Regions from separate parts of the Homo sapiens genome. Here regions 1, 2, 3, 4 and 5 are each linked to region 6. Evidence: promoter capture Hi-C in 16 types of primary human blood cells and fetal thymus (Javierre and others, 2016). All regions are on one chromosome and are shown on one strand. The core of a region is centred on a gene start or on the middle of the fragment in contact, and the rest is flanking DNA. Distances in the headings are between cores, read along the strand shown. Region 1 overlaps DLGAP1 (DLG associated protein 1). Region 2 holds the start of DLGAP1-AS3 (DLGAP1 antisense RNA 3). Region 3 overlaps DLGAP1 (DLG associated protein 1). Region 4 has its middle 40 kb from the start of LINC01895. Region 5 has its middle 17 kb from the start of LINC01895. Region 6 holds the start of DLGAP1-AS1 (DLGAP1 antisense RNA 1).

Evidence for each region. Contacts are between HindIII fragments. The CHiCAGO score rates a contact against its expected background, and 5 or more counts as called.
Region 1: a contact is called between a fragment that was not itself captured here and the fragment with the promoter of DLGAP1-AS1 in region 6, in 1 of 17 cell types (erythroblasts). The highest score is 6.0, in erythroblasts.
Region 2: a contact is called between a fragment that was not itself captured here and the fragment with the promoter of DLGAP1-AS1 in region 6, in 2 of 17 cell types (monocytes and M2 macrophages). The highest score is 9.2, in monocytes.
Region 3: a fragment that was not itself captured here is called in contact with the fragment with the promoter of DLGAP1-AS1 in region 6 in 1 of 17 cell types (monocytes); the score reaches 5.5 in monocytes.
Region 4: a fragment that was not itself captured here is called in contact with the fragment with the promoter of DLGAP1-AS1 in region 6 in 8 of 17 cell types (naive B cells, naive CD8 T cells, M2 macrophages and 5 more); the score reaches 9.9 in naive B cells.
Region 5: a contact is called between a fragment that was not itself captured here and the fragment with the promoter of DLGAP1-AS1 in region 6, in 9 of 17 cell types (naive B cells, M0 macrophages, M2 macrophages and 6 more). The highest score is 9.0, in naive B cells.

What each region holds. Positions count from the first base shown.
Region 1 is chr18:3,991,109-3,995,930 of GRCh38, forward strand. The region is part of intron 3 of DLGAP1 (DLG associated protein 1); the gene reads right to left. DLGAP1-AS4 (DLGAP1 antisense RNA 4) reads left to right here. Exons shown (of 5, transcript NR_102696.1): 2 at 1,983-2,094; 3 at 4,109-4,241; 4 at 4,500-4,608. Among named protein-coding and RNA genes, the nearest start is that of DLGAP1-AS4, 31 kb to the left of the region's middle. The HindIII fragment of the contact is 2,341 bases long and covers 321-2,661 here.
Region 2 is chr18:3,875,198-3,880,309 of GRCh38, forward strand. It overlaps DLGAP1 (DLG associated protein 1), which reads right to left. Exons shown (of 13, transcript NM_004746.4): 4 at 3,915-4,943. The coding sequence starts at 4,871. It overlaps DLGAP1-AS3 (DLGAP1 antisense RNA 3), which reads left to right and starts at 2,983. Exons shown (of 3, transcript NR_038895.1): 1 at 2,983-3,094. LOC124904238 (a long non-coding RNA gene) reads left to right here and starts at 2,628. Exons shown (of 4, transcript XR_007066270.1): 1 at 2,628-2,915; 2 at 3,135-3,210. The HindIII fragment of the contact is 1,178 bases long and covers 1,234-2,411 here.
Region 3 is chr18:3,857,956-3,862,607 of GRCh38, forward strand. All of the region lies in intron 4 of DLGAP1 (DLG associated protein 1), which reads right to left. Among named protein-coding and RNA genes, the nearest start is that of DLGAP1-AS3, 18 kb to the right of the region's middle. The HindIII fragment of the contact is 2,155 bases long and covers 1,722-3,876 here.
Region 4 is chr18:3,308,220-3,312,946 of GRCh38, forward strand. No RefSeq gene overlaps it. Among named protein-coding and RNA genes, the nearest start is that of LINC01895, 40 kb to the right of the region's middle. The HindIII fragment of the contact is 5,204 bases long and covers 395-4,727 here.
Region 5 is chr18:3,331,115-3,336,164 of GRCh38, forward strand. No RefSeq gene overlaps it. Among named protein-coding and RNA genes, the nearest start is that of LINC01895, 17 kb to the right of the region's middle. The HindIII fragment of the contact is 1,823 bases long and covers 1,393-3,215 here.
Region 6 is chr18:3,590,422-3,595,363 of GRCh38, forward strand. DLGAP1-AS1 (DLGAP1 antisense RNA 1) reads left to right here and starts at 3,693. Exons shown (of 3, transcript NR_024101.1): 1 at 3,693-3,819; 2 at 3,999-4,063. The region is part of intron 7 of DLGAP1 (DLG associated protein 1); the gene reads right to left. RefSeq lists enhancers at 3,333-3,452, 4,865-4,942 and a silencer at 4,450-4,744. The HindIII fragment of the contact is 5,788 bases long and covers 1-4,590 here.

The sequences.
Region 1 (4,822 bases), core at 241-2,740, 400 kb after region 6:
TTTATAGGTAATTTTTCAAATTTTTTTAAAATTTGTTTTAATTTCTAATAAAGTAAATATTAATATAAAAAAACAAAAAACAAAAGACCTCATTTCCTGTATCTCTAAAGCACAAGCCCATTCTGAGATTTTATAGTTTTTTACTGATGTCTTGCTCAGACTTTTTCAGTAAATATTGAAATGATTAGAATTAAATAGAATTCTTATATATTTGTATTTACTCATCTCTCTGTATTTCCGGTGGGGGGATAGAGTTCAAGGAAAAGTTTAAGAGACATGGTTGGTTCATTTCAGGAGTCCAAACCTTATGCTAATGAGGAAGCTTTGTCAGGGGAATTTCAGATATTGGCCAGTGGCAGTGGTGGGAACCTTGGGGTTAGCATCCTTGAAATAACACCGCAGAGGTGGTGAGTGGCCAGTGTGCCTGGATGACCCAGATTTGAGTGGGGTCTCTTCTGGAGGCTGACTGCCCAAGCAGCCTGAAGAATCACAGAGATACTTTCTGGTTGGTATTGCCCTTCTCCCTTCTCCCCAGAGCTATGCCTGATTTGGGCTGAGACAGTGGAAAATACACAATGCATGTTTCAGACATTCCTGCTTTAATATGTTAATATCTCACCCACTCTCCAGACCAGGAATCTCATATCTTGTCCTACTCTTTTCCACACAAAAAGAAAACTGCATTACATATAGAATTTTTCAGTGTAGCTGTTGCTTATCCCATTGTAACTAACCACTTTGATTTATTTTTTTGTGTATATCTTGCCTTGACACGCTTTCTTTATCGAAGACCACGGAAACATGGATTCTTTGTGATATTTTGAAAAATGACAAATTGAAGAGATTTTTATCTCTGGAGACTCAGCTTTTACATCATAAAGTACTTCTCTCCCCTGATGGCTAACCCAATCACATAGTTCCACAATAAACAAGATGAATCTAGATTCATAAGACAGTATGTGCAGAAAAATGCTGTTACTCTTTGTGGCTTCTTTCCCTGTGCCTTGAAAATGTTCATTAAAAATCTCCTACTTAGTTTGCCTCATTATATTGGTTTACTCATATTGGTCCCCTATTTTAATGATTTAAAGCACGTTTGAAAAGATTTCTTGTTTGGAACATCCTTGGCCAGGCCACTACTTTGTAAAGTAGGGAAGTCTGCAGGCCCTAGTTGTTCTTTTGAACTTAGTTCATAAAATGATTTTTAAACACTGATCTATCAGCTTTTCTCTTCTCTTTATCAAAATTAATAATTCACATAAAAGCCACCTATTTAAATGGAGTCTCAGCTGGGTACGGTGGTTTACGCCTGTAATCCCAACACTTTGGGAGGCTGAGGCGGGTGGAATGCTTGAGTCCAGGAGTTCCAGACCAGCCTGAGCAACATGGTGAAATCTGTTTTCTACAAAAATTACAAAAATTAGCCAGGTGTGGTGGTGCACAACTGTGGTCTCAGCTAACTGGGAGGCTAAGGCGGGAGGATCACTTGAGCCTGAGAGGCAGAGGCTGCAGTGAGCCGTGATTATGCCACTGTACTCCAGCCTGGTGACAGAGCCAGACCCTGTCTCTAAATAAATAAATAAATAAATGGAGTTCCATTGTTAGCAACTTACACAACCTGGAAAAATCAACTGATCTATAAATATTGGCATGGATGAGTGTACAAATACTTTCAAAAAGAATTACAATTTCTCTGTAATAACTATCAAGGTTATTTGGCTAATAGGGGGTCCCTGGAAGACCTTTAAGACCTGTCTGTAAAAGAAAAGGAACGCTGGCAATTCACAAGACACCTCAGCAATGTAGCATCTGCTCCTGGGGCAGGTAACAAAATCCAGTTTTAAATTTTGCTCTTAACAGTTAAGGAGATAATCAAGTCAGCTTGGGATTGGGTTGTGCACAGGAAGGCTGCAAAAAGATTACAAAATAGCCTCCCCCTGGCAGAAATGTAAAAAAGCCATTCCATGATTTTTTTTTTTCAGTTCTGCCAACGATTTATCTTCAGAAGACAAGCAGATGAGGAGACAAAACCTACTGATGTGGGTACCCAAGCAGGAACCCCCCTCTTGCACCGGCGACTCACGTGGGAAGAAGGTAGGAAATCAACAGCATAGGGGAAAGAAAAGGAAAAGGAGTTTGGAAACAGGATAAGACAGGCTTCTTTTGAATAATGGAGAGGACTCTTAGAAAAAAGAAAAGAAACAGAATAAATTTTTATTCACTGATTCCATTTCAGCGCAGCAAATTCTCATTGATTTTAATCAATTGCTTTCTTACAGAGTTTTGTCCATATGTATGTGACAAAATCAGCGGTCATTTAATGACAGACTTAGAATGTGTGCTAAGAATGAAACCATTGAGATTTCCTTGTCTTTCCTCCTTTCAGTAAAAATCATGAAGGGGAGAAAGGGAGGGGGTGAGGGTGGGGCAAGGAGAGCAATATTTTATAAAAGTGACAACGCGTTTTGCATTTGAATTATTATTTATTTTCCCTGGTGGAGTTTCAAGCAGGTTATTGCAAGGAAAGGAAAAACTGGAAATTAACCAAACGTGGTCCAGACTGGGGATGACGAGTTTAGCAGGGGCTTTAATGGGACCTCCTAAGCGATTCAGGAGAGAATGAATCTCTCATAGTTTCCCTTCTCATGGGATCACTGACCAAGCTTCCCCAAATCAGGGTGCAGCAACAAAATCAGGGTGCAGCATCTTTTAAGTGGGCTTAAGACCCACTTAAAAGCTTATCATAGCGAGATGTTGAGAAGATAAAGTTTTAGTTTTTTATAGAGCAGAAAATATATATGAGATGAGGAATAAAAGGTTCTGTCTAAAAGCCTGACATGTGTAAGACTTTCCCTCCACTGTTGTTTTCCTTTTGGTTTGGTAAGAATGTGGTGAGTGAAGTAAAAAGATAAGGAGAGAAGAACCACAGAGACCCCCTTGAAGCGTAAAACTCTGTTTATTAAGAGTGAGAATGTTCAGTGGCCTGTGACCCTCCCTTTCCTAGGCCACCTTCCCCAGTGCTTGGCTTTTCCCTGCCTGGCACCGGGTGATCCAGGCAAGGCCCTGGCTGGGGTGCCGAGGGTGGGGGAGACAGCTCTGGGTCCTTCTGTGCCACTTCCTCCCTGTGCTGGTGTTTCAGCAGCAATCTGCCCCTCTGCGATGGCAGCCTGTCCACAGCTCTAGTGCCCATAGGCTTGGGGACCCCGTTCCTTCCCTTCATCTGACTCTTCAGGCCTAGAGTGGCGAGGGCTTCCCACTGTGCTTGTCTCTGGGTACCTCGGCCTCTCTGGCTGTATTTTCTTAACCCTGCTCCCTGCTCTATAAACAGACCCTTCTCTAAATTCACCTCAACTCTCTTAATGGGATTCTCTTTCATGGGATTCTGACTGACAGAGTGCGGCTAAAAATATCTCAAACCTGATAGAAGCTGAGAGGAGCTGAAATTTCGAGTTGCAGAAACCTGGATGCTTGCCACTATATAGAGGACAGCAAACCATTTATTATTTATACAATTTCAGGCAAATAGGCTCTAGAAATTCCAGGTACAAAAGATCTGAAGAGATGACTAAACACTAACTAGGATTAGTTACATTAATCACGGACTTTTAAAATGACCAGAACCACCTGCTGCTAAATTATAAAGTCCAAAAAGACTTCAAGAATTGTTCAAAACTAAATAATGTCAACTCTCTAGAATGATTTATTCAAATTTAAGTAGGCCAGACTCACAATTTGGAGCACAGCTCTTTAATACATATAGATTCTAATTTTCTAAAAGAGAAATAGATTTGTTACTTGACTATTAGAAAATTCATTGCATATTTAAAAAGCGAGAGAACTTAGCTGTCTGCCTGTTCTGAGTCTGAGGTGTAAATGTTTACCTCATCATACATTAAGTATCTATAGATTATGCTCAATACTTTTTGCAAAATGTAGCATAAAGTCACTACTCATGCCCTTAAAATAGGCAACAACAATGTAATTTTAGAAAATGTTAATAAGTTTTCCTAGCTTTTGATTTTTTTTTTTTTTAGCTTTGGCCTTATCCTTTTTTTAGGTAGTGGCTGGCATTATGGATTAATTACTTAATACACTTTTGTTGCCTTAGAATTCACTGAGCTGAAATGGAGTGAGAGCTAAGATGCTCTCAGAATATTCTTAAAATGACTGTGCTGCAAAGAAGCCCGGGTGAATAGAAGAAAATAGAAGGAATGGTGGATACAAGTGAAGGTTAAAATGAGGTAGGAACTAAATATTATACTGGCACTTGGGGTTAGTATTTATGAATTGTTACTCTCTGGCAATGCTCTACTCTTTTGTATCTTCTTCGGGACAGAAAATTCCGTAAGAAAGACCTTTCCAGGAAGAGCTTGTCCCTAAACTTATGGGCTCAGGGTTTGAACAAAGCGTCTCTTCCAAGACCTTGTGAATAATATGCATGTGGGCCACGTAACTTCACAAAGTAAAGTTAAACGAATGCATTCTTTTCTTGCTATTAGACCCCATTTATCGCACCAGCTGTTGGTGATTTCAGCGCACCTTTCCAAGCCTCTTGAGAGTTCTGCTCTAACCACACTGCCCCCTAGTGTTCTCTCGCTTTGGTGCAACGTGAGTAAAAAAAAAAAAACCACCAAGATTTACTTTCAATATATACACTGTATTCATCAGTGTTTTGCTATAGAGAATGTAAGATATCTTTCTGTAAATTATTTAGATATTTAATCTTATTTATTTATTTATCCCAATAAGATATTAAAGCATGCTAAGCTGGAATGATTTTTTTTCATAAATGGGTAAAAGCAAAAGTAAAAGTTTAGATACT
Region 2 (5,112 bases), core at 573-3,072, 280 kb after region 6:
GCACACATACATTTACCACAAAATAAATCAAGTAATAAAATAAAAAATACGCACTCATTTCCATTACTGAAGCATATTACGGAGTTGGGTAGATTTGGGATCAAGTGCTAGCTCCCCCACTTACTGTTTATGTGTTCCTGGGCAAATGATTTAAGCATTTGTGCCTGTTTTGTTGTCTATAAAACTAAAGTAAATAATACTCTACAAAGTTGTTTTGAGTACTTAATGAGACATACACAGTTTCTGGCACATAATAGATATTTGATATACACTGCTTCCTTCCTCTGCTTTGTATTTGGAGGAGGTAGAGATTGGGCATAGTAAATGAATACAGACTTTGAAAGCAGACAAATCAGTTTTGACCCAACGTGTTGCCACATACTAGCTGTGTGTCCTTGGGCAGGTTACTTAACCTAATTTACGAAATCTTAGCTTCTTCAACTGTGAAATATCTCTAGAATTTTAAAGAGCAAATTAGACAACATCTGAAAAACATACAGTAGGCATCTCTGAAATGAGAGTCCTGGGACTTCCAATTCTTGAAAATAGTTCTAATTAGTACTCTGACACATGTAATTTACGAGTTTGAAAATGCATACTGAGATCATACATCTTTTGGACCAAGCGCCTCATTTTCTAGCAGAGGAAGGAGGTCCAGAGAGCTGAAAGCATGTTTCCAGGTCATGTTACTAGTTAGCAGCAAATAAGGACTAGAACGCTCCGGGAACTAGAAGAATAGTGCTTTGCCTACTAAGTCTCTAATATTGAAGTTAAATCCATTTGTAAATCCAGCTTCAATATTAGTTGGCAATTAAGGCAATAGAGCTGAAAAAAAAAAAAAAAGAACTCCAAAGAAACCCTCTTTCCCTCTCTGTTTTCCCAAATTTACTTCTAAGAATGAGCCTATAGATGAAATTATTCCCTTGGAGCTAGCTGGCACGGGCTAACCCTATCTTCCTCAGCAGAGCTTGCACGGGGTGGCAGATCCTCTTTTCATTTCCTAGAAGCAAGAAGGGAGCCAGAAGCCCAGTTCTCAGGAGGTATTTTCTATTCTCCTCTGACCCCATATGAATATATGGCTCTTTCTTCCCTTTCTTTACAGCATCTCTTCAGCCTCAGCACAGGGGTTGGGAGGTCTACACTGTTTTACATTTAATTCTCTTACTAACATACTACCTCCCAACATTGAAATATAGATTTTTTCCCCTAGTTTGAAAGTCTTGCATAAATAGAAGCTTAATACATTCAATATCTATTAATAAGGATTAACTTGGAGTTTAGTTTAAAAGGTTGAACTAGCTTGGTTAATTATTTCCCAATGTAGGACAGAATATGTTAAACTGTTTTCAACCTTTCAATAATTTCAGAATTGAAAACAAAGGTGCTTTGGTGTCAAAGACAGATGAGCTATTACTCTGGGGAAGAAGGGAAGTAAAGGGATTAATATGAGTGTGTCTGTGATCCATTGTAATGAATGTTTTAGTTCTGTATGACGGGTGATGTATACATGGGTGTTTTATTTTTTTTCTTTATACCTTTCTGTAAGCCTCAAACGTTTCATTACAAAAATGACTTAAAGAAGGCAAATAGTTTGAAAATAGAATTTCCAAATCTTTATAGTAGGAGATCCAATAATGCTACTACTAAATCCCATACTTAAGCCTTTAAGATTTCATTCTCATTTTACTGAAAAACTTTAATAATAATATGCTTATTTTAAAGATTTTTATTTTCTTCTTGCTCACCATTTTTGATGCCCTTGATTTCAGGTCTGTGCTAGGGCATATTAGAAAGAGCTTGGTTTTGGCATCAAACATACTTGAGCCTAAATCTCAGTTGTACAACCTCCAGATTGTGGGGCTTTAAATGACTTGATATTTCTAAGTGTCAGTTTCTTCTCTTATAAAAATAGAATATTATTACATTCAGTAATCTTGGGATTATCACAAAGATTAAATGAAATAAGAAATGGGAACACATTTGCTATAGCATCTGGTATATAGTAGATTTTCAATTAATATCACTTTCCTTATCTTTCCACTTTTCACCACTACCTGAGATCGCAACTCCAAAAAGGTATAAAAAAGAAAGAAAAATGAACCTAAGGAAGGAAGAATGTAGGCATATAGGCAGATATAACGAAAACATTTCATTACTAACAAAGGCTTATGCTAGATCCATACACAGCATCCTTTACTCTGATACTTCTCATCTAATCTCATCATTACTTACTTAAGTACAGGTGTTTTTGTTTTTGTTTTTGTTTCCTTTCAGTTTGTTTTGTTTTTGCCACTGGTCATAGAACCTTCGCAGACAAAATGTGTGGTACTCTAGGGCTTTTATCTCTTTACTCCTTACTTTTTGTAAGACAGATATCCTTATCGAAATACTTTACTTTCAGTGGTGGGTGAAGCTTTATGTTCTTAAAGAGTTTCTAGAGCTTTCGGTTGCAACTTTCATTAATGGCCATTTCTCTAAGTTAAGAGACTGGGTTCTAGTCCCACCTCTGCCACATGCTAACGGTTTAACCCACTAAGTATTTACCTTTCTTTGTGTCTACTTTTTCATATGCTAAGTGGATTAAATGATTCTTTGAGCTCTGAAATTGTTATAGTTCTTGATAACTTATTAACATGTAGCAACCTTACAGGAAATTAGGCAACACCAGCTTCAGTGGGAAGTACTGACCACATAATTGTGTGTCGTGTATGAAAACTGTCCATGTGCTGGTGGCTTCTTCTGAACTCCAAGAACAGGCTCTGGCACTGCCCTTGTCCAGGGATTGCCAGCTTGGGGTCTTCTCAGGGATTGATGGAGGCATTCCCAAGGGAGCCAGACTTGTCAGGAGGAGTTCAAAGGGAGCAAAAAAGATGAACTCCTCAAAGGAAGAATTTTTCTTTGCATTTCTTCTTAAGGTGGGAGTGTAAAATGGGAGTGGGTATGTTATACTTTTATAGCTCAGTAATTTTTTTTTTTTTTTAAGATGAGGCTACCAGGAGAGAACAGAGAAGAAAAGACACTCTGAAAAAGGAAAAGATGAGAGTTCTTATGGAAAAATGTGCCTTGGGAAAAATTACAATACTACAGCAAGGAGGTAGGGAAGAAAAACATCTCTCTCCTATATTTTTATCCAGGTAACATCTGGTTTCAGTGAACTGGAGGAAAACACAAGGAGACAGTGGCAGGGGAAGAGCAGCCTACCGTGGCTCTGTAAGTGTGTGGGATTTACATGCTGACACTAATTGTATTTTACTTCTCTAATCCTTCCTCCTTTTCCTCCTCCTCTCTGTTGTCCTGGGTGTCTGCAGCTGTGCTTGTCAGGTCCCCAAACTGGCTAGCTCCCCACCTCCTCAGGGCACAGGGCGTCTTCCTGATTTGCTGTGCCCTCGATGTGGAAGCTCAGGTCGGGGTGTAGTTACTGATGGTTATGATGATGACCATCGCAGTATTCTAACATAGCTTCAGGCAGGATTTCACAATGAAAACCACCCCACAAAACCCTGAATAGATCTAATGAAACTCTTTCCAAAATTCAAACGATCGTCACGTATTTTTGAATTAAAGAAAGGTGGACTTCTTTTAAAATTCTCTGTAGACTTCCCTTTCCTCTCTTTCCCATCCTATGATCCCTCAGACAAAAGAGGAAGCCCATAATAACTGGTTGCCTTTCCATAGGCGTGCTTTTCAAAGCACTTGGATATCTAGTGTCTTAAGATAACCCGGTGAGGTCGGTAGCATTTGTTTCTTTTCATTTTCCCTACAGGAGCAATTCGGCACAGAGATGCCGAATAATTTGCACAGGTTCCTATCTTAATAGACAATTCAGAGTAGTGCCAAGACTAGAACCAGGAGAAATGCCCACACAAGCATGCCAGGTACTACTTCTAAGCCTCCATCATTGACAGAAATGGTACCTGCAGGTACTGGCAGGAGCGTTCTTGCTGACACGACTCGGACTTCACCATGGCCTGGTCCATGTTCACCGAGGCCTTCTGGTAAACCTCCCGGGCCCGGCTCACGGTGAGCGTGGAGGACCAGGCGCTCTTCTTCAGCAGCGGGGTGTCCAGGCTGACCGGCAGGTTGGCGCAGGTGGAGCACTTGACGTCGTTGTTGCTCCGGGAGGCCTTCACCGCCTGCTCGCTGATGGTGTTGTAGGCCTCCAGGAAGTACTGTGAGGCCGAGCGGTCGGGGCACCTGCCCATGGTCATCACGCCCGAGGGGGCGTGGTAGATGCACATGTCACCATCCAGGTTGTCGTCCGAGCTCCACCAGCCCGGGGAGGTGCTGGGCCGGGCCTTGGGCTCCGCGCGCCGCTCCTTGCTCTTGCTGCGTTTGCCATAGCGCGCCGCCTGCGCCTCGTCAGGGCTGGCCTTGCCCCCGTTGACGCTGCCCTTGGACGGCCCCTCCAGGGAGTGCGACTTGGTGAAGAGCTTCTGGACCGAGTGCACCAGGTGGCGGATGCGGCCGGGGCTGTCGCTGCGGTGCTCCACGGCCGTGCGCTTGTACTGCAGGGTGTGATAGCCATCGCGGCTGAGTGGCAGCTGCCGCTCGAACTGGTCCAGCAGGTTGGCGGGGATGCGGTTCGCCTTGGTGGCCAGGGTGCGGGGCACCAGGGCACACTCGTCCTTCAGCTCTTGCTGCGAGGTGTAGTGCCTGCGGGGGAAGGTGCTGCTGGCCAGCGGGTCGCTGAAGGGGCCCACGCACTCAGCCTGGAAGGAGTTCCGCTGGGTGTAGTATGGGTGGTCTGCGGGGTGGTGCTCCACTGGGCTCAGCAGGTAGGGCTTGCGGTCGGAGTGGTGCGACAGCGAGTCACAGGCCGAGTCGCAGGTGACCCCGTGGTGATGGCTGCGGCTGCCTGATAGCCCTTTCATGGCGGACCGGAAGCAGCCGCCAGGGTCATGGACACCCGGAAGTCAGGCTCCAGACCCGTCTTGGGCAGGGATCTGGGGGAATGAAGAAAAGGGCAAAGTCGTTAACATTTCTCTTGGAAATTAGGTATTGCACTTTACAGGGTCTTGCTCTGTTGCCCAGGCTAGAGTGCACAGGCGCCATCTCTGCTTCCTGCAGCCTCCACATCCTGGGCTCAAGCCATCCTTCCACACCAGCCTCCCG
Region 3 (4,652 bases), core at 1,549-4,048, 270 kb after region 6:
TCTTTATTGCTTCAATCCTATTCCAAACACAATCATTTCTTATCTGGTTTACTATAATAACTTCCCAAATAGTATCTGAATAAATGAACATTTGCCTACGGGATATCTTCAACTGAATAGGCTTCAGGCATATAAGATTCAGCAGGCCGAGAACAAAACCAACTTCTCCATCTAAATGTATTCTTTCTCCTACATTAATTATCTCAGTTGGAAGTATTGACAGGCACCCAATTTTTCAAACTATAAATTTTTCATCATTTTTACTTTTCTCTTTCCAGACACCTCAGTAGTTCAATCACTAAGTCCAGGTGATTCTATACTTAAAACATGTTTTTTCCTATTTAAAAAACTTTAACCATCAGTTCCCCTCTCCTCCCAGGTTGGTGAGAGCTCTTTGAGGGCAAGAGTCATGTCCTTTCAACTTTGTATTCCCAGCCTTTAACAGAGCCCTTAATCTGAAATATACTTAGTGCTCACAAGTGTCTGAATTAAAAATTATATCATATACAACAAAAGGGAAACATATATATATATACGTGTATATATACATATATATACACGTATATATATATGCACACACACACACACACATATATATATATAAAACACCTGATTGCAAATGTGCAAGATGTATGCATTTACATGTATAGATACTGGAAGGGGATTTCAAATGACATGAATAATTGGTGTTTTACTATAAAGTTAAGAGACTGATAAAAATTTCAAATAAGAAGCAGCAAATATGTTACTCATAGGCAAAGGGGAATCTAGATCTAATAAACTAAAAAATTGTCTGGCATGAGATTCTTCTGCTCTAAAAAGCTTACTAAATGAGCTTTCACATGATAAACATTAGAGGGCATACCATCTCACAAGAAAGGAACACTCCTTTTAGATGACACTAAGAGTTAACACTTTAAATGTAAGAAGAAAAGTGGTGGATGAAGCTATTGAATGCTTATGTTTCAAGAAGAGTGAACAATAGAACTTTCATGCTTCAGAGCTTTTTCCATACATGAGGTTATAAGTATATTTTAAGTGAGATGTTAGAGCAGGTGACAATTTTTAACAGGGACTAAAAAATTAATTGCAACTCAAAAATTAACAATATTTAAGAGTGAATGACTGTATACTGCAGAGTATGTAAGTAAGTACACCATCTACAAGTGCTCTGATTTCAAATAGTGATTTGAATGGACATGCTGCCTAACTATTTTAGAAGAGTATTCTTTTAAAATAATCTAAAAAACACAGAAATGGATGGTATTTTCATTTCATCACCATATACGTGAAATATCCAGGGACCAGTGCATATATACAATGATCTCATTTAGCTGATAGGCAATAGATATATAATTTCACACATCTTTCACACCAAGTTTAAAAAAATGGTATTAAGTTTAAGAAATAGCTTATGTTTTAGATAGTAGATTCTGTAGTAGGCAGATTACGGACTCCCCAAAGACGCCCATGTCTTAATCCATGGAACCTGTGAATGTTACCTTATATAGCAGAAGGGACTTCACAGATGTGAGTAATTTACTGGTCTTGAGATGGGGAGATTGTCGTGCATTATCAAGTGGGCCCAATATAATCACAAATAAGTAGAAGGAAAGTCAGAGCGAGAGTTGTGGCCACAGACACAGATCAGGGTGATGCAATTGCTGGCTTTGGAGATGAAGGAAGAGGCCAGGAGTCAAGGAATGTAGGTGGCTTCTAGAAGCTTGAAAAGGCAAGAAAAGGGTGTCTTCTCTAGAAACCTCCAGAAGGAACATAGCCCTACTGATGTTTTGATTGTAGCTCATTGAGACCCATTGTGGACTTGTAACCTGCAGAACTGTACGATAATAAATTTGCGTTGTGGGCCAGGCACGGTGGCTCACGCCTGTAATCCCAGCACTTTGGGAGGCCGAGGTGGGCAGATCATGAGGTCAGGAGATCGAGACCATCCTGGCTAACATGGTGAAACCCGTCTCTACTAAAAATGCAAAAAATTAGCCAGGCGTGGTGGTGGGCATCTGTAGTCCCAGCTACTCGGGAGGCTGAGGCAGGAGAATGGCGTGAACCTGGGAGGTGGAGCTTGCAGTGAGCCGAGATTGCGCCACTGCACTCCAGCCTGGGCGACAGAGCGAGACTCTGTCTCAAAAAATAAATAAATAAATAAATTTGCATTGTATTAAGGCACTAAATTGGGGGCATTTTGTTATTGCAGCCATAGGAAGTTAATACAGATGCTGAAGGGTTTCATGTGCTCAAAACCCTGATAAGTGAAACTGTAATCTCTAACAGTAACTTTTGCAATGTCTCTTAAATCTGCTCTCTTGCTTCAGTTCACACTGCTAACACTGTGTTTTTTCAGGCATAATAATAATAGGATTTATTGAGGCATCATATAATGTCCCATTTCCAAGCATTGGTCTGCACCTTCCACATGTATTAACACAATTAATTCTTTTGACAACCCTGTATGATAGGTATTTTTATTATCTCCACATTACAGAGGAGGAGACCATGGCAGATAGACATGAAATATCTCACTCAATGTTGTATAACTGCTAAAACACAGGATTTGAACACAGCTTTCTGGTAGCAAAGCTATATTTACTCTTCCCAGAATGAACTTCATGGCCCTTGAACTGCATGGCTGTCAATGAAGGTGAACGCCTCACTAATTTACCATCTATGTTGACTGTTGAATTATTGTGGCAGACAGAATTTTGGCTCCCATGATCTCCACCTCCTGGTGTCATGCCCTTGAATTTGTGACGTTTCATGGAAAAAGGGACTTTGCAGATGGAATTAAGTGATTTTCAGGTACTTGTCAGGCATGGGGGATATAGGGCTGAACTATTGAGAGATTAACAAATAATGAGAAAATGCTAAGAGAAATCTCTCCCGTTATACTCCCATAGAAATACTTTCAAGGCTTCAGAGATATGATATTTCAAATGAGGAAACGTCCTTATCCTCCATCCTTCCTTACTTACAATCCAGGTTTAAATTCTTTCTGTAAACTTCCCTATTCTTTGTTCAGATACCTTTATGCTTCTCCCTTTGCCCATGTATTTAGTTATTTAATGTTCCACTGGACTATAAACTTTTTCAGAGTAGGAACTGTTTTAGAAGTCTTTGAATTCCCATTTCCTATCAACTTCGACGCTTATATAGAGAAGATCTTCATTGTTTGTTACTTGAATCGATTATTCAGGAAAAACTCCTTTACAAAAAATCCTATGACAGGGATTACATTGTTATAGGAGCTCCAAATTCCAATAGAGGATCTGTTCACTTCAGCTAATATTCATCCACAATAATAATTCTTTAAAAACTTTATATTCCTCAAATTATTCTACAGGCTTTCCTAATAAACTGTCATCATAAGGAAGAAGGAAAGCCATCAATTTTATGCTTTTAAGGAAAAAGCATATAATTTTTTAAATGTCATAATTTAAACTTGTTAGTGACCCCTTATTTCTTCTGGGCACATGATAAAGGCTAAGAACTTTTCTTCTAAGCAAGATGAACATCTCACCCACTCCCCTGACTTTTATATAATTTCAGGAGTTTGCTGATTGTGTAGAGTCCAATCTTGCACATCCTACAGGGCACACAGCCTCAGATAGAGAACACCTGAATTAGGTGGATGAGATGCCCTGCCCTTCTGCGCTTGACTTTCTGCCCAGTGCCCCCACCCTGCCCTCTACCCCATCCAAAGGTCTTTTTGAGATAGGATTATTTCAGAAGTCAGTCAAATGTGCAATCTCAGCAGTTCTGCTTCTGTGCTGCCCCAGCCTGACTAGTGACAACCCTGCTGATGTTCCAATCCTAAACATTATCTTCCTCTGACAGTCCACATTAGGGAATCCTGCCTCAATAAGCTTTTCCAATGGGCCTGCCACCAATGGCATTGTTCTGATTTGTTGGGCTGAAGTGATCTCTCTCTTTCCAGGCCTCAAAGATGGCGAAAGAGTGCCTGGTTTCAGAGAGCAATACGAAAAATGCAGCTTTGGAAGTCTGGTGAGTAAACAAATGAAGCCAGACGTTGACACTTGTACATCAATCATGTTCATTTTTCAATGTGCATTGGAAAGGTTTGAGACTCACTTGTCTCAGCAAACAGGGTTCAATTAAACCAGTACCCTGGATAGGCCATAATGGACACTCCAAGGGCCTTTCTGGAAAGCCCTTTCCCTTTGGCCAAAGGCATAAGCAATGTGGGGTAGACAGGAGTCTTTTGGGTAACACGTAAACTGAACCTGTCAGAGGATGAGGGGCCCTGTCTGAACGGCACCAGCCAAGGGACTGGCTGTAGCAGATATGATGATGCATTGCCAACTGCCATATCCATCTGCACCCAGATATTGCTCCTAGAGGTGTCAAAACATTGTAATTTACAAGTAAATGTGAGGAGAAGAAAAGTTTTGCAGACATGTTTCTTAAATGAGGAAGAGAATCACAGATGAGGATTACTGTCCAAAAGAGAGCTTCAGCAACTACCGCCCAAAACTCAGCGTGAGAATGGAGATATCACGTAAGGTGCTGCCTACTTGGCTGATGGTGAGGGAGGTACAAAACGCAGAGGAGCCGACAGGCACGTGGAGGGGACAGCGCCAGGTGGGTGGGAAGATCCAGGGAGATAATGCACATGACGT
Region 4 (4,727 bases), core at 1,747-4,246, 280 kb before region 6:
AGCTCTGCCTCCCTGGTTCACGCCATTCTCCTGCCTCAGCCTCCCGAGTAGCTGGGACTACAGGTGCCCACCACCACGCCCGGCTAATTTTTTTTTGTATTTTTAGTAGAGACAGGGTTTCACCATGTTAGCCAAGATAGTCTCAATCTCCTGACCTCGTGATCCACCCGCCTCGGCCTCCCAAAGTGCTGAGATTACAGGCGTGAGCCACTGTGCCCAGCCGACTTTGTTTTAAAGTAATAAATGCACATGATAAAAACTTCAAAGTAAACAATATGAAATGAAAAGCAAAAGTCTCCCTACCCCAGCCTCGTCTCCACTCCCCAGACATAACCAAGACAATTATTTATCTTTCTAAAAATTTCGTGATGCTTCTACTGGTGTATATTTTGGAAGCTTTGTAGTTCACCTTGGTCTCAATGTTCTGCCATAATCTATCTGGTTTCATATTTGGCCTGGGGTCGACTTAATAGTCAAATGCCAAATTCAGCATCCCCATTCTAGCATTCTCAGGGCATGATCAATTATCACCCAGGTCAGGGGATCTGCAATTCACAGCTCTTCGGTGAAATCTAGTCTCCCTTCTGCTTTTGTAAATATTTATTGCAACTTACCACATTCATTCATTTAGATATATTAAGAATTTTCAAATAGTTAAATAAATAAGGCAATAGACTGGCAGTGCACAGATTAAAATAGTTTGATAACTTAGGCTGGGCACGGTGGCTCACGCCTGTAATCCCAGCATTTTGGGAGGCCGAGGCGGGCGGATCACGAGGTCAGGAGATCGAGACCATCCTGGCTAACACAGTGAAACCCCATCTCTACTAAAAATACAAAAAATTAGCCGGGCGTGGTGGTGGGCGCCTGTAGTCCCAGCTACTCGGGAGGCTGAGGCAGGAGAATGGCGTGAACCCGTGAGGCAGTGCTTGCAGTGAGCCGAGATCGTGCCACTGCACTCCAGCCTGGGAGACAGAGCGAGACTCTGTCTCAAAAAAAAAAAAAATAGTTTGATAACTTTAAGAAAAAATCCAACACTTTTTTGAGTCCACAAGTGTTTATAAAAAGTATTAATAAAAGGAAGAATAATTGAGATCAGAGAGTATCAAAATTCAAATTTCTGTAGACTTGTTTGGTGAATTAGGTAAGCCAAATACACCTTAAGAGTTTTATTTAGTTATTTGGTATTTAATATTTTCTTAGTTTTATTGGTTGTTTTTTAAAAACTATATTTATGTAACTTTTATTTTAGCCAAACAGTAACTTTATATTTTCCACAAATGAATTGCATGTTTTATTTTTTCACTTGTGGGGTTGTGCTCTGCTTCAAAATTATATTTAAAATTTACTTCAAAATTATATTTTAAAATTTCACATTTCACACAAAATTTTCAACCATTTTGATTACTTTATATTTTACATGAAACACTGCCTTGAATTTATTTTGAAATAAGACAGGAATTGAAATATGTTTTTCCTTAAATGGTTAACCAATTGAACCAACACCACTTATTCAGTAATTACTCTTGTCCCACAGATGTTTATCATCTAAAAATATGACTAGTAAATTTTTAACTAATATTTGAATTTTTAAATTAATTCCAGATTTATTCTTGTAACCCAGCAGTTTCGTTCTATGGTGGTATAATCTGCTTTAGTTATTGTTTTAATGAAATATTGATTTTAATTGTCAGACATTTGGAGTTCAGCCAAACTGTGAAGTTAGTGATGAAGCACATATAAAATTGTGTATCTTTTAAAAATGTACATGAATGAGACTCAAGTACACATGCTATATTTAATTTTTAAATTTAGTGACATATCATGGATATTTTTCCATATCAGGATTTACCGCCCCTAGATAGATATTCATCCAACAGAAATAAAAGCATATGTCCATATGAGACTTGTACGCCAATGCTCATTGCAGCTCCATTTGCAATAACTCCAACCTGGAAACAACCCAAGTGTCCATCAACAGGTGAATGGCTAGATGAATTGTAGAACATTCTGATGATGGAATGCTTATCAATGATTAAGAATGAACTGGCCAGGCACGGTGGCTCACGCCTGTAATCCCAGCACTTTGGGAGGTGGAGGCAGGCAGATCACCTGAGGTCAGGAGTTTGAGACCAGCCTGGCCAACATGGCGAAACCCCATCTCTACCAAAAATACAAAAATTAGCTGGGCATGGTGCACACCTGTAATCCCAGCTACTCCGGAGGCTGAGGCAGGAGAATCGCTTGAACCTGGGAGGCGGAGGTTGCAGTGAGCCGAGATCGCGCCACTGCACTCCAGCCTGGGCGACAGAGGGAGATTCCGTCTCAAAAAAAAAAAAAATTAAAAAAGAAAAAAGAATGAACTATTGATATATACAACAACATGGATGAATCTCAAAATATTTATGCTGAGTTAAGCCACACACAAAAAGAGTATTACTGTATAATTCCATTTGTATACAATGACAAAAATGCAAATTAATCCGTAAGAGCAAAAAAACAGTTCAGTGGTTGCCTAGGGACTGGGGGTGGAAAAGAGGAGTGAGGGAGGGAGAGATTGCAGGGACACAAGGACATTTTGAGGTGACAGATATCTTCATTATTTTCAAGCCGTCATAGTTTCACAGATTTATTTACACGTCAAAACTGATCAAATCATTTAAATATGTGCAGTTTTTTACATGTCAATGTTATCTCAATAAAGAATTTTAAAAAATAAAACAAAAGGTTTTCAGGAGTTTGTAATGTGTTTACTCACACACTCCACAAACTCAATTTTATCAAATATTTTTTGAATAAGAAATTTTAAATCTGTCAATGAAATTAGCCCTTTTCAATGATGTGCGTGGCAACTACTTCCCTGTTTTTTTTTTGTTTGTTCGTTTGTTTGGAGACAGGGTCTCGCTCTGCTGCCCAGGCTGGAGTGCAATGGCCCCATCACGACTCACTGCAACCTCCCGGGCTCAAGCGATTCTCCCACCTCCGCCACCTGAGTAGTTAGGACTACAGGCCCACCACCACACCTGGCTAATTTTTTGTATTTTTTGTAGAGGCAGGGTTTCACCATGTTGCCCAGGCTGGTCTGGAACTCCTGGGCTCAAGGGATCCACCCATCTCAGCCTCCCAAAGTGCTGAGATTACAGGTGTGGGCCACCACACCCGGCCTGTTGCTTGTTTTCTAAAACTATACTGAGTGATTTTTTTTTTAAAGCTAAACAGAAAACTTATATTTTCATCAAATTAAATGTATGCTTTTTTTTTTTTTGGCTTGTGGGGTTGTATTCTGCTTAGAAAGAAGATCTACTTCAACAATATGTACTTAAAATTTTCTCACTTTGTTCACAATTTTTCTAGCATTTCCTAACATTTCAATTGCTTCATATTTCTGCCTCAAATTTATTTTGGAATAAGGCAAGAGTTAAAATATGCTTTTCTTTAAATGGTTAGTGAATTGAACCAACAATGTTTATTGAATAATTACTTTTGTTCCACAGATTTTTGTCACCTAAAAATACTTCTTTTTTTTGTTTGTTTGTTTTATTTCTGGACTTTTTAATCTACTCCATTGGTCAGTTAATTGTTGAAGTTTTGGAATCAGTGCTCACTTCTGTTAGGATTAGTCTCCCTCAATTCTCTTCTCTTTTAGTATTTTTTTTTTGCGTAATCATATTCCTTATTTTCTATCTCTTCTTTTTTTTTGTTTTTGACGGAGTCTTGCTCTTCGCATAGGCTGGAATGCCGTGGCACAATCTCGGCTCACTGCAACCACCTCCAGGGTTCAAGTGATTCTCCTGTCTCAGCCTCCTGAATAGCTGGGATTACAGGTGTGCACCACCACACCCAGCTAATTTTTGTATTATTTTTTAGTAGAGACGGGGTTTCACCATGTTGGCCAGGCTGGTCTCTAAACTCCCAACCTCAGGTGATCTGCCTGCCTTGGCCTCCTAAAGTGCTGGGATAAAGGCCTGAGCCACCGCGCCTGGCCTCTAGCTATTCTTTAATATTTTTCTTTTTCTTTTTTTTTTCCAAGATGGAGCCTCGCTCTGTCGCCCAGGCTGGAGTGCGGTGGCGCAATCTCGGCTCACTGCAAGCTCCGCCTCCCGGGTTCACGCCATTCTCCTGCCTCAGCCTCCCGAGTAGCTGGGACTACAGGCGCCCGCCACCACGCCCGGCTAATTTTTTGTATCTTTAGTAGAGACGGGGTTTCACCGTGTTAGCCAGGATGGTCTCGATCTCCTGACCTCGTGATCCGCCCGCTTCGGCCTCCCAAAGTGCTGGGATTACAGGCGAGAGCCACCGCGCCCGGCCTATTCTTTAGTATTTTTCAAAGAACTGGAAATGAATTTCCCAAGGAGTGAATGTCTTTTACTCTTATTGTCTTTTTAAAATTCTTTGTGCATTTGCAATTTTTTCTTAATGTATTTGAAGAATATGTAATTTAGTCCATAAAGATTTATGATAGGTAAAGCCTCACTTCTTTATCATCATAAAATTTTTCTTTATCATTTTTCAACTTTGTCTTTGTTTTGAATTCATCCTTGACTGATGTTGATACCAGCTCTCTTTTTGCTTTCATTGTCTTGAGATTTATTAATCTCTCTTTCCCTTTTATGTTTCTTTTTTTTTTTTTTCTTTTTCGAGATGGAGTCTCGCTCTGTCACCCAGGCTGGAGTGCAGTGGTGCGATCTCAGCTCACTGCAACCTCTGCCTCCCGGATTCAAGCAATT
Region 5 (5,050 bases), core at 1,054-3,553, 260 kb before region 6:
TCAAACCCAGCTCTGCCACTTACTAGTTTAAATGGTCAGAAAGCACTGTTTTATGGATTTTAATAACTTCTTATGTCTGTGAGATTATTTTGTCTGCAAATAATAGAAAAACACAATTTGGATCCATATAAACCATCAAGAAATGTATTCTTTTCCATAGGAAGTCCAGAGATAGGGTAGCCCCAGTCATGATGTGGTAGGCACTTCAGCTTCCTTCTCTACCTCTGCTGTTTCCCTTATATGGTGCAGGTTGAATCCTCTCCCTAGATGGCCATTGAGATCCTAGTCATCACATCCAGACACATCAACAGGCCTTTTCCTAACTGAGCATTTCCAAGGGCACGGGAGAGCCATGAGCAGCCAGAGGAGCTGAATAGGTGCTGCAGAGCCAATCACTGTCTCCCTTATTCCTTATACTCACAGAGCATGCTTGACTTTTCAGAGTACTTTCATGGTGATTATCACTTTCAATTTTCACGATGACCTATGTGAAATGTGAGTTTTGGATTATCCTCACAGGTGGATTTGTTTGCAGGAAAAGAATATTTAATTTAAATGGTTATATTAGTATTCAGTATATTAAGATACAAATCTCACAATCTAATACTTCCTTAGGTTTTTAAGTCCACCTTACAAATTCTGTTTTTTTAAGTTGGGTGAATTTGGTAATCACCTTACAGAGAACTTTGTTTTCTGTTTTTGTTTGTTTCTTTTCTTTTGTTTTGAGACAGAGTCTCGCTCTGTTGGGCAGGCTGAAGTGCAGTGGCATGATCTCAGCTTGCTGCAAACTCCACCTCTGGGATTCAAGTGATTCTCCTGCCTCAGCCTCCTGAGTAGCTGGGATTTCAGGCATGCACCACTATGCCAGGCTAATTTTTGCATTTTTAGTAGAGATGGGGTTTCACCATTTTGCCAAGGCTGGTCTTGAACTCCTGACTTCAAGTGTTCCACCCACCTCGGCATCCCAAAGTGCTGGGATTATAGGTATGAGCCACTGAATCCTGCCTACAGAGAACTTTGATTAAAACTTGGTCCTATTTATAAACAAAATCAAATATTTTAGAACCTTTTATACTGCACTTATAAATTTAATTCATATTTAATTTTATTAAACAATTATCTGACTTAATAAATGAAACATTCCTGAGCACTAAATAATTCTTTTAAATTTGATATGGTCAATTAAACTGATAATATGTTGAACATGAAATTCTCTTAAATAATTAAGACCTGGATATAAACTTACACATATCAGAATCAATTATGTATTTGTGTATTTTAAAATGGATTTAGAATAATTCAATCATCTTAAAACATGATAAGTTTATAAAACATCAAATATGTATAAACTCCTTAACCCCAAAATACAAATACGGTGAGTTTTGTTCTCAAAGCTTATTTGGGTAAGGCACTTCCCACTCAGGCTACAATTTTCCCACGTAACTATAGCTTGAGGTTGCCCAACCACCAAATATTTTGGCCAGGAGGCTGAGTTCTTTGGTAACTAAATGAATTCTATTTGTGGTTGCTATGTCAATTACTCCTTAATTTCAGAAGAGGGATAGGTCAAGTAGCCCAAAACCAAGACCCTTCTGATTCTCTCAGAAGAGTTTACCCCACTCACATCACTTGATTGGATTTGCATCTCTTTGGCAAAGATGTGTAAATGTTGTCCTTGTTCCTTTAAAGAACTTTGAATTTGCTCGATTCCTACATTTATTCTTACTCTTAGGATTTCATAACTCTTATAGGGTATTAAAATAACATCCAATTGATTCTGAGTTTGTCGATTAGTTTACAACTTGCAAGGTAATTCAACTGACATACTTTAGGCTATACGAGCTGTCTGGAAATCATGTGGTTGGGCTCTTAACTGTATGGGGTACTTTTCTCTCAGAGCAAACCTTCTATGGGCCATAACTCTTGCCTCTGGTTAGAGAACGGTCATTTGCCCAACTTGTAAAGTTGGCCAATGAAAAGAGTAGTAGCCCTCCAAAGTGGTATAAAAATTAGAAACATCTGAAATCTGTAACTACAAAAATAAACATTATGTAAACTTAAGCAGAGCCTCCTGAATTACAGCTGCTATGATCCCCCTCTGAGGGAGTTTCTTGACTGGGAGAAGACTGGCCCTAGCATCAGCAAGTAAGAATTCTGCTACCCATCAGCATAATAAAAGCTAACAGAACCTTCTCTACTTTCCCATTGAAGCCCAAACCCTACTCCCACTTTTTGTTAAGTTGGTATATAATTCTTTACCTCTGAGTATTCAGGGAGTTACTCAGTAATGAGTACCCCCACATGCGCATGTAAATAAACATTGTATTTTATTTTCTCCTGCTAATCTGTCTATTGTAAGTTAATTCTCAGGCTCCCAACATTTTGCCAGTCAGTGGCAAAAAGTCTGTTTTCACGCTGCTAACAAAGACATACCTGAGAGTGGGTAATTTATAAAGAAAAAGAGATTTAATGGACTCACAGTTCCACGTGGCTGGGGAGGCCTCACTCATGGTGGAAGATGAAAGGCACATCTTACATGGCAGCAAGACAAAAAGAGAATGAGAACCAAGCAAAAAGGGGCTCCCCTTTATTAAAACCATCAGATCTCATGAGACTTATTCACTACCATGAGAACAGTCTGAGGGAAACTGCCCCCATGATTCAATTATCTCCCACCGGGTCCCTCCCACAACACATGGGAATTATGGGAGCTACAAATCAAGATGGGATGTGGGTGGGGACACAGCCAACCCGTATCAGTGGATAAACAAAGTTTCTTCTCTACACTTTCAGCAAGTGTAGGATGGAATGATTAGGACTCCCCACTCAATCTACAGACAGCAGCGATCTCAGACCTCTGACCAAGCTGGTAAATGTTAACCTTCTTAAGCATTAGACTCCTGGGTCTCTGCTGGGGACCCTGTGAGTGACTCCATTTGGTGGTAAATTTGGCCACTTCCTTTCTTGTTGATAAGACTTTAATAAGGATAAAGTCATGGGACTTTAGTGGCCCTTTTGGAAAACTAAGATCTCCCCAAACTAGCTCCTCTAAAACCTCTCTCTTACCATCTCTCCTCCTCCTTTTACTGCCTCGAGTCTTCCCTTCAGCTCCTTTGACATGTCCCCTTCAAGACCCTACCTCCTCCATCCCTCTGTCTGCCCCTGTCAGATCTTTTCTTTCCCATTCCAGCCCCCCATCTCTTTACAGTCACTCAAGCTTTAGCTCTCCTCCCATCAACAGGGGCTCTTGAGGGGTTCAGGGGCCCCCAAATGCAATCATATGAGGCTAAAAAGGCTTATTGAAAATAGAATGGATGTTTCATCCACTCAGATGGGATTTGGAGACATCCACACAACCTCTTGATGTGTGCTCAGTCCCTTAGTCCACAAACTCAGTCCTAAATCTTAGTACACAGATTCCATAAGATTACAAAAAAAAAAAAAAAATCTTAAACTCTTTCCTGTAAATATCCATGGAAAGTTTTAATCCTCATATTGAGCTGGTAATCTCAACATATTCCATCTAATAAAAAATACAATTTGGATAAAAACATAAAGGGGAGTAAAGACAGGAACCAACTCTTGTAAACCAGTGAATTTTGTGTTACTGTGTTTACGCCTTGGGTGCTGTGACTATTGTTATAGATGGCTAAAAATTTTAGGATGAAAGCCATCAGATCTCTATTTGCTCCAGTTTGTATGCATGCATGTATGTTATGTATATGTGATACTTTCCTATCTCTGAGTGGTATTAATAAATTAATTTCTAAAATCCCCTAAAGGAGTTCTAATTGGCTTAGACAAACAAGGGCTATATAAATTAAAATATTCCTAAAACTTTCAGAAGTATAGAAACTAACCCAAATGTTTTTCAAGTTCATGTAATTTGGGTAAATCTTTGGTAAATAAGACTAAATTGAATTTGTTGGTTTAATAAAAACAGGTGGTATGTCTTCCAAGTTATCAGCATTAAGCATGAAACAAGTATACATTTTATTCGCCTTGGGTTTACCAGTCAAATAACCTTGTATCTGTCAGATGTTTAAGATTAAAAAACTATAAACTTAACCTAAAGAACAAATGTACGAGTAAAGATGCGATAAAAATGAATTGCATGATATCCATTATTTCTTGTATATGAAGCACAGAAAAAAAGTATTTAACTTTTTAAATTTTAGTTTTATTTATTTTAGGTTATTTGCTTTTTTGATTTTTTTGATAATTGCCTAAAATAAGTTAACATGAAATAAGTTAACAGAAAAATAACTTGAGATGATGGGTAGCTTTGTTTAATGTCTTAAGAAATTTTCAGGCTGGGTGCAATGGCGTGCACGCCTGTAATGCCAGCACTTTGGGAGGCCAAGGCTGGTGGAGCACTTCAGACCAAGAGTTTGAGACCAGCCTGGGTAACATGGCAAAACCCCATCTCTATAAAAAATACAAAAATTAGCTGGGCATGGAGCTGTGTGCCTGTAGTCCCAGCTACTCAGGGGGCTGAGCTGGGAGGATACCTGAGCCAGGGAGGTACAGGTTGCAATGAGCTGAGGTAGCGCCACTGCACTCCAGCTTGGGTGACAGAGTGAGACCCTGTCTAAAACAAAACAAAACAAAACAAAAAAATTTTAGTGAGGCATGGTGGCTCATGCCTGTAATCCCAGAACCTTGGGAAAAGAAGTTCCAACTTGAAGCCAGGAGTTCAATACCAGCCCGGCATTACATGCCTGTAGTCCTAGCTACTCAGGAGGTTGTGGTGGGAGAATCACTTGAGCCCAGGAGTTCAAGGCTTGCTGCAGTGAGCCATGATCCCACCACTATACTCCAGCCTGGGTAACAGAGCAAGACTCTGTCTCTAAAAAAAAAAAGAAAGAAAAGAAGAAAAAAATTTCCATGAGCAACCCAAACAGAATTGTTAAGAATACATTTATTAAGTTGATGTAAGTGGGATAAAAATTATATGAATGGGATTTTTTTTTTTTTTTTTTTTGAGACGGAGTCTCGCTCTGTCACCCAGGCTGGAGTGCAATGGTGCGATCTCGGCTCACTGCAAGCT
Region 6 (4,942 bases), core at 2,443-4,942:
ATTTTCTTCAATCAGAGAGCCGGTTGTTAAGCATTTCCAACACCCCTGTGTGTACAGAGCAGGGTTATTCAAAGCCTGGTCTGCAGAGTGGTGCCCGTTTGCAAACTGTGTCACAGTGCAGGGTGACACATGCTATGAAAATTGAGTGTAGGGTCAGGTACGGTGGCCCACACCTGTAATCCCAGCACTCTGGGAGGTCGAGGCCAGTGGATCACCTGGGGTCAGGAGTTTGAGACCATCCTGGCGAACATGGTGAAACCCTGTCTCTACTAAAAATACAAAAATTAGCCGGGGGTGGTGGCACATGCCTGTAATCCCAGCTACTCAGGAGGCTGAAGCAGGAGAATTGCTTGAACCCGGGAGGTAGAGGTTGCAGTGAGCCGCAGAGGTTGTAGTGAGCCGAGACGGTGCCATTGCACTCCAGCCTGGGCAACAAGAATGAAACCCCGTCTAAAAAAAAAAACAAAGAAAATTGAATGTAAGTGTTTAGAAACTTTTATAGCAATTTTATAGAGTGTTTTACCTGTTGAATCTAAAAACAAAACAAAACAAAACAAAAATTATGGGTTTGTTTTTTGTATGTCTTAAAAAAAAAGTCCTCTTTCTAGTAATTCTTTTTTGTTGCATTTTACCAAAGCACTAATCTGCAGCAGATTGAGGGCAAACAAACAAACTGGTCCCTTACCAGAGATAGGCTGAGAAGCACTGAAAAGAACATTTGCAAATCCAGGGAACAGGGCAGAGGTAGTACAAGTGAGATTAAGAATATATTCAAGAGGTAACTTGAAGCCACAGGCTATTTTAGAAAACAAAATGATGTGAAGAGGCCAAAAGAAAAAAAAGAAACTTGGAAGGACCTAAACTGGGGACATAAATGTATTTCTATTGTAGAAATACAGAATGGGAACGATTGGACTTATGGTTGTAATGTCAGGTAAGGTGTCTATTTCAGGAAAGGCATGTAGGATTAGAAGTATGGACCTAGGCCTGTTGCGGTGGCTCATTCCTGTAATCCCAGCACTTTGAGAGGTCCAGGTGGGAGGATCTCTTTGAGCTCAGGAGTCTGAGACCAGCTAGAGCAACATGGTGAAACCCATCTCCACAAAATTATCCAGGAGTGGTAGAATCCTGCCCCAGCCTTCCAAGTAGGTGGCACCTGTAGTCCCAGCTACTTGGAAGGCTGGGGCGGGAGGATTGCTGAAGCCCAAAAGATTGAGGTTGCAGTGAGCCAAGATCACACCACTCCAGCCTGGCGACAGAGCAAGACTACGTCAAAAATAAAAAACAAAAAATAAAAATAAAAAGACGGGGTGTTTCATTTGGAAAAGAAGAAAGGGGGGTTTTCAATTATTTGGAGGGCTCTTGCTTAGAGGATAGCATGGGCCTGTTTTGTATAAGTCCCCAAAGGAACAACAAAGGCAAGGGCTCAGAGAGGCATAAAGAATAATTCTCCAGGCATTGATTGTCCGTCCATAGAAGGAATATGAGGACCTCATAACAGAGGGAGTTCTCAGCCCCTGGACCTGTTCAAGCACAGACCAGCACATCTTTTGGCTGGGAGGCTATAGCAATTGTACCAACATCTGATAGGGGGCTCAACTAGATGACAAGGTTTCTTTCAAATTGGATGGTTATGATAATGAGTGAAATTTAGACAAGAATTTGCAAACTAGGGAGGGTCCCACAGAGAATGATGCTGAAGAGCTGAAGAAAGAAGCCAAAAAAGGAGGCCAGAGAAAGAGCTCCAACGAGGCTGTCTGGTAGCAATGATGAATGTTCTGCCATCTTGGGAAAGCAGCTGGCACTGATGAGGACAAAATAACTAATAGACAAGTTTGCTGCTGCTGCTTCCAGCCAAGCAGACCCCATAGTTGTGCACTTAACAGTGCATCATAGGGCTCCTGCTCCTTGCGGTGATGTGTTATGCTGGCCGGACTTTCCAACAAATGCCAGACAAATCAGCGGTCTGGCTGGAGTCCTCCACCGGCAAAAATGCGCAAACCCTGGCAACAACAAAGATGATGAGATGAGATTCAGTCCAGACCCGTGACATGCCATTAGATCTTCCTAATCACCAGAGAGCAAATCCTTACTCTGTGTACTGGACACTGTGCTAAGAACTTAATAGACATGGGGGCTGGGTGTGGTGGCTCACACCTGTAATCCCAGCACTTTGGGAGGCTGAAGCATAAGGATCGCTTTAGCCCAGGTGTTGGAGACCAGCCTGGGCAACAGAGTGAGACCTCGTCTCAAAAAAACCCAAACAACAACAACTAGCTGGTCATGGTGGTGCACGCCTGAAGTCTCAGCTACTCGGTAGGCTGAGGTGGGAGGATCACTTGAGCTTGGGAGGTGGAGGCCGCAATGAGCCATGACTGTGCCACTGCACTCCAGCCTAGGTGACAGAGCAAGACCCTGCCTCAAAAAAAAAAAAAAAAAAAAAAAAGAAAAAGAAAGAAAGAAAAAGAAAAAGAAAAAGAAAAAGAAAAAAAAGAAAGAAAAGAAAAGAAAAAGAAGAAAATAGACATGATCTCACATATGTGAAAGATCCCACTATCCCCATTTAACTGATGAAAATATTAAGGCTCAGAGCAGGCAACGGACATCCCTAACTCATCTAGAGATTCAGTGACAGAGTTAGAGTACTCAGGGCTCCAACTCCCATCTGACCATTAACTCAAACCACCTTTGTTTATCTCCCCCGCCCCCCGCCAGTAAACACTCTCTAGTAAACACCTTGTCCACTAAAGCACCGTGGTTTCCACGAGGGACTCCTTCGTGCACAGCCATCCTCACTCTGCAGGAACTCTTAAGTTTCAGTGAATGAATGAATTTGGAGTGGTCAACAAGGGGTGCACAGTTGCAACTTTTAAAATATTGCAGAAGGAGAGAAATGCCACAAAACAAAATGCACATGGAAAAATCACTACCTTATTTCAAAATATTTACAGCTTCACATTTAAGGCCACCCAAAGCGTGGCGGTCAGTGGTGAGAAGGCAGAGATCAGAGGCTGTTGGGGTGGGTCATACACCATGATTCCCGGCCCCCCTCTGGGAGATACAAGGTATCCCACAGTCTTCTCTCCCAGTTACATCCTCCACGGAAACCACAAGATGACTCGCTCAACTTTTTCTAAAGTAGAAAAAAATATGCTTGTGTGTGTGTGTAAGGGGAGGAGAGGGGATGTGAATGAAATGGAGGGTAGTGTAATAATTCCTGTAGTCATAAGACACGCCAGTTGGTAGTTGCTAGTATTCCAGACACTTCCTAACGCCAGACAAATGCCCCAAGCCTCGGCATGTCTGGCCTAGAGATCTATTCAACTGATAGCAGCCGCCTCTTCTGGGGAGAGCAGATCTTTCAGAAAGCACTGGCTGCGCTGCTAATCAAACGCAACATTGTTCTCAGCAAGGAGGAAGAATGGAAAGGTTTGTTTCAGAGTCACAACTTTATTTTTTTTAAAAGGCACCCAAGTTGTTTCAACAAGCTGCTACAAAACTTGGGCTTCCTGAGTGGAGGCTGTTTTGCACAGTGCATGTACTGTACAAAAATCCAGGCAGGGAGGGGTCAGAGAGTTCGTCATTAAAGAAAAAAAAAAAAAAAAGCCCCAGGCACTTGATGCCTGGAAATGATGTCAGACGCAGCCACTCCTCTGTTAGAACTACAGCCAAACAATGCGCAGGCAATCCACAGCAGCTGCCCCTGCAAATGTCAGCGCCAGCCCAGTCAAAAGAGCTTGAAACCTACCAAGCCGGAGGACTGTGCTGTGCCTCTCTCGCCCACATTTTCCCCAAGCACTCTCAGGAACCTGGCAACAGGTAACGTGGCAACCTTTGACTTATAAAAGGGCAAGTGGCACAATCTCAGGGAACAAATGGACTTTTTTTTAAAGCCAGCATCTCCCCCACCACTCCCACACCCCCCTCCCTCCCTCCCTCCCTCCCAACCAAAAGTCTGTAAAAAACAAAACATTGACGCGGGCAGTCCTACTCTCTAGTGTCCCCTTGTGGCCAAGCCTGGAACATCACATCTGTACGTTGCAATCTGTGGATCAGCTACGAGGTAAGTCGCTCTTTGGAAGGGGTGGAGGTCTTTGCTGGACTTGTCTTCCGAAAAGTATGAAGAGTGGAAGTCAAGGCTCAGAATGGCGTCCTTTTTTACCTTATCACCTTAACAAAAACTTCACCTTAGCTGCAGGGTTAAACCTCTGGGTTGGGGCTGGGGATTTTCGTTGTTGTTGTTTTAAAGCAGCAGCCAAGGCCATGTTTTTTAAGGTGGTGAGTTAAACGGAGCAAGAGCTGCGGTAGCCTTTTCCACCCAATCTCTTTCTTCACATCCTAGTCACAGCCAAGGGTAGGGTGGATGGCAGTGAGGATAAACAGCCCAGAAACAGGATTCCTGCAGGGTGGGACTGGCATTTTCCATTTTTATCTGAAGTTGTACTTTGAATGCAGACACCTTTCTCTCAGGCCAGAAGCACTGCTCATTTGTATTGCTGGCTTCCAGTTAGCCTATTTGCAAGGATTACTTAGGATTTCCAGACTGCAGGCCCAGCTACCCAGAGAGTGTGCCTCAAAGCCCCACCTCAAAGCTTTTATCTCTATGTGGCGGGAAACACCCACGAAAATGCCAACGGCGGTATTTGTAACTTGCCTTCTTCCTTTTGGGAACTGCTTTCTGCAGCTCTCTCTGCGTTAGAGGAATAGCTACAGCTGGGAGCTGCTCCAGCCACGCAGGAGGAGAGGGCACCCATTGAGAGGCGGGCACCCCTTCTGTCTCCCTCTGGCTATGTTAACTGGAAACTAGGAAAGGGGTTCAGATCAAAGTAACTGCTGTCTTCAGAAAGTTCCATTCATTAACTAAGTTAGCGGAAATTAAATGGTGTTTGGAGGAAGGTCATTTCAGAAGGCCCAGGGCCAGAGGCTGAGGTCTAAAACTTCT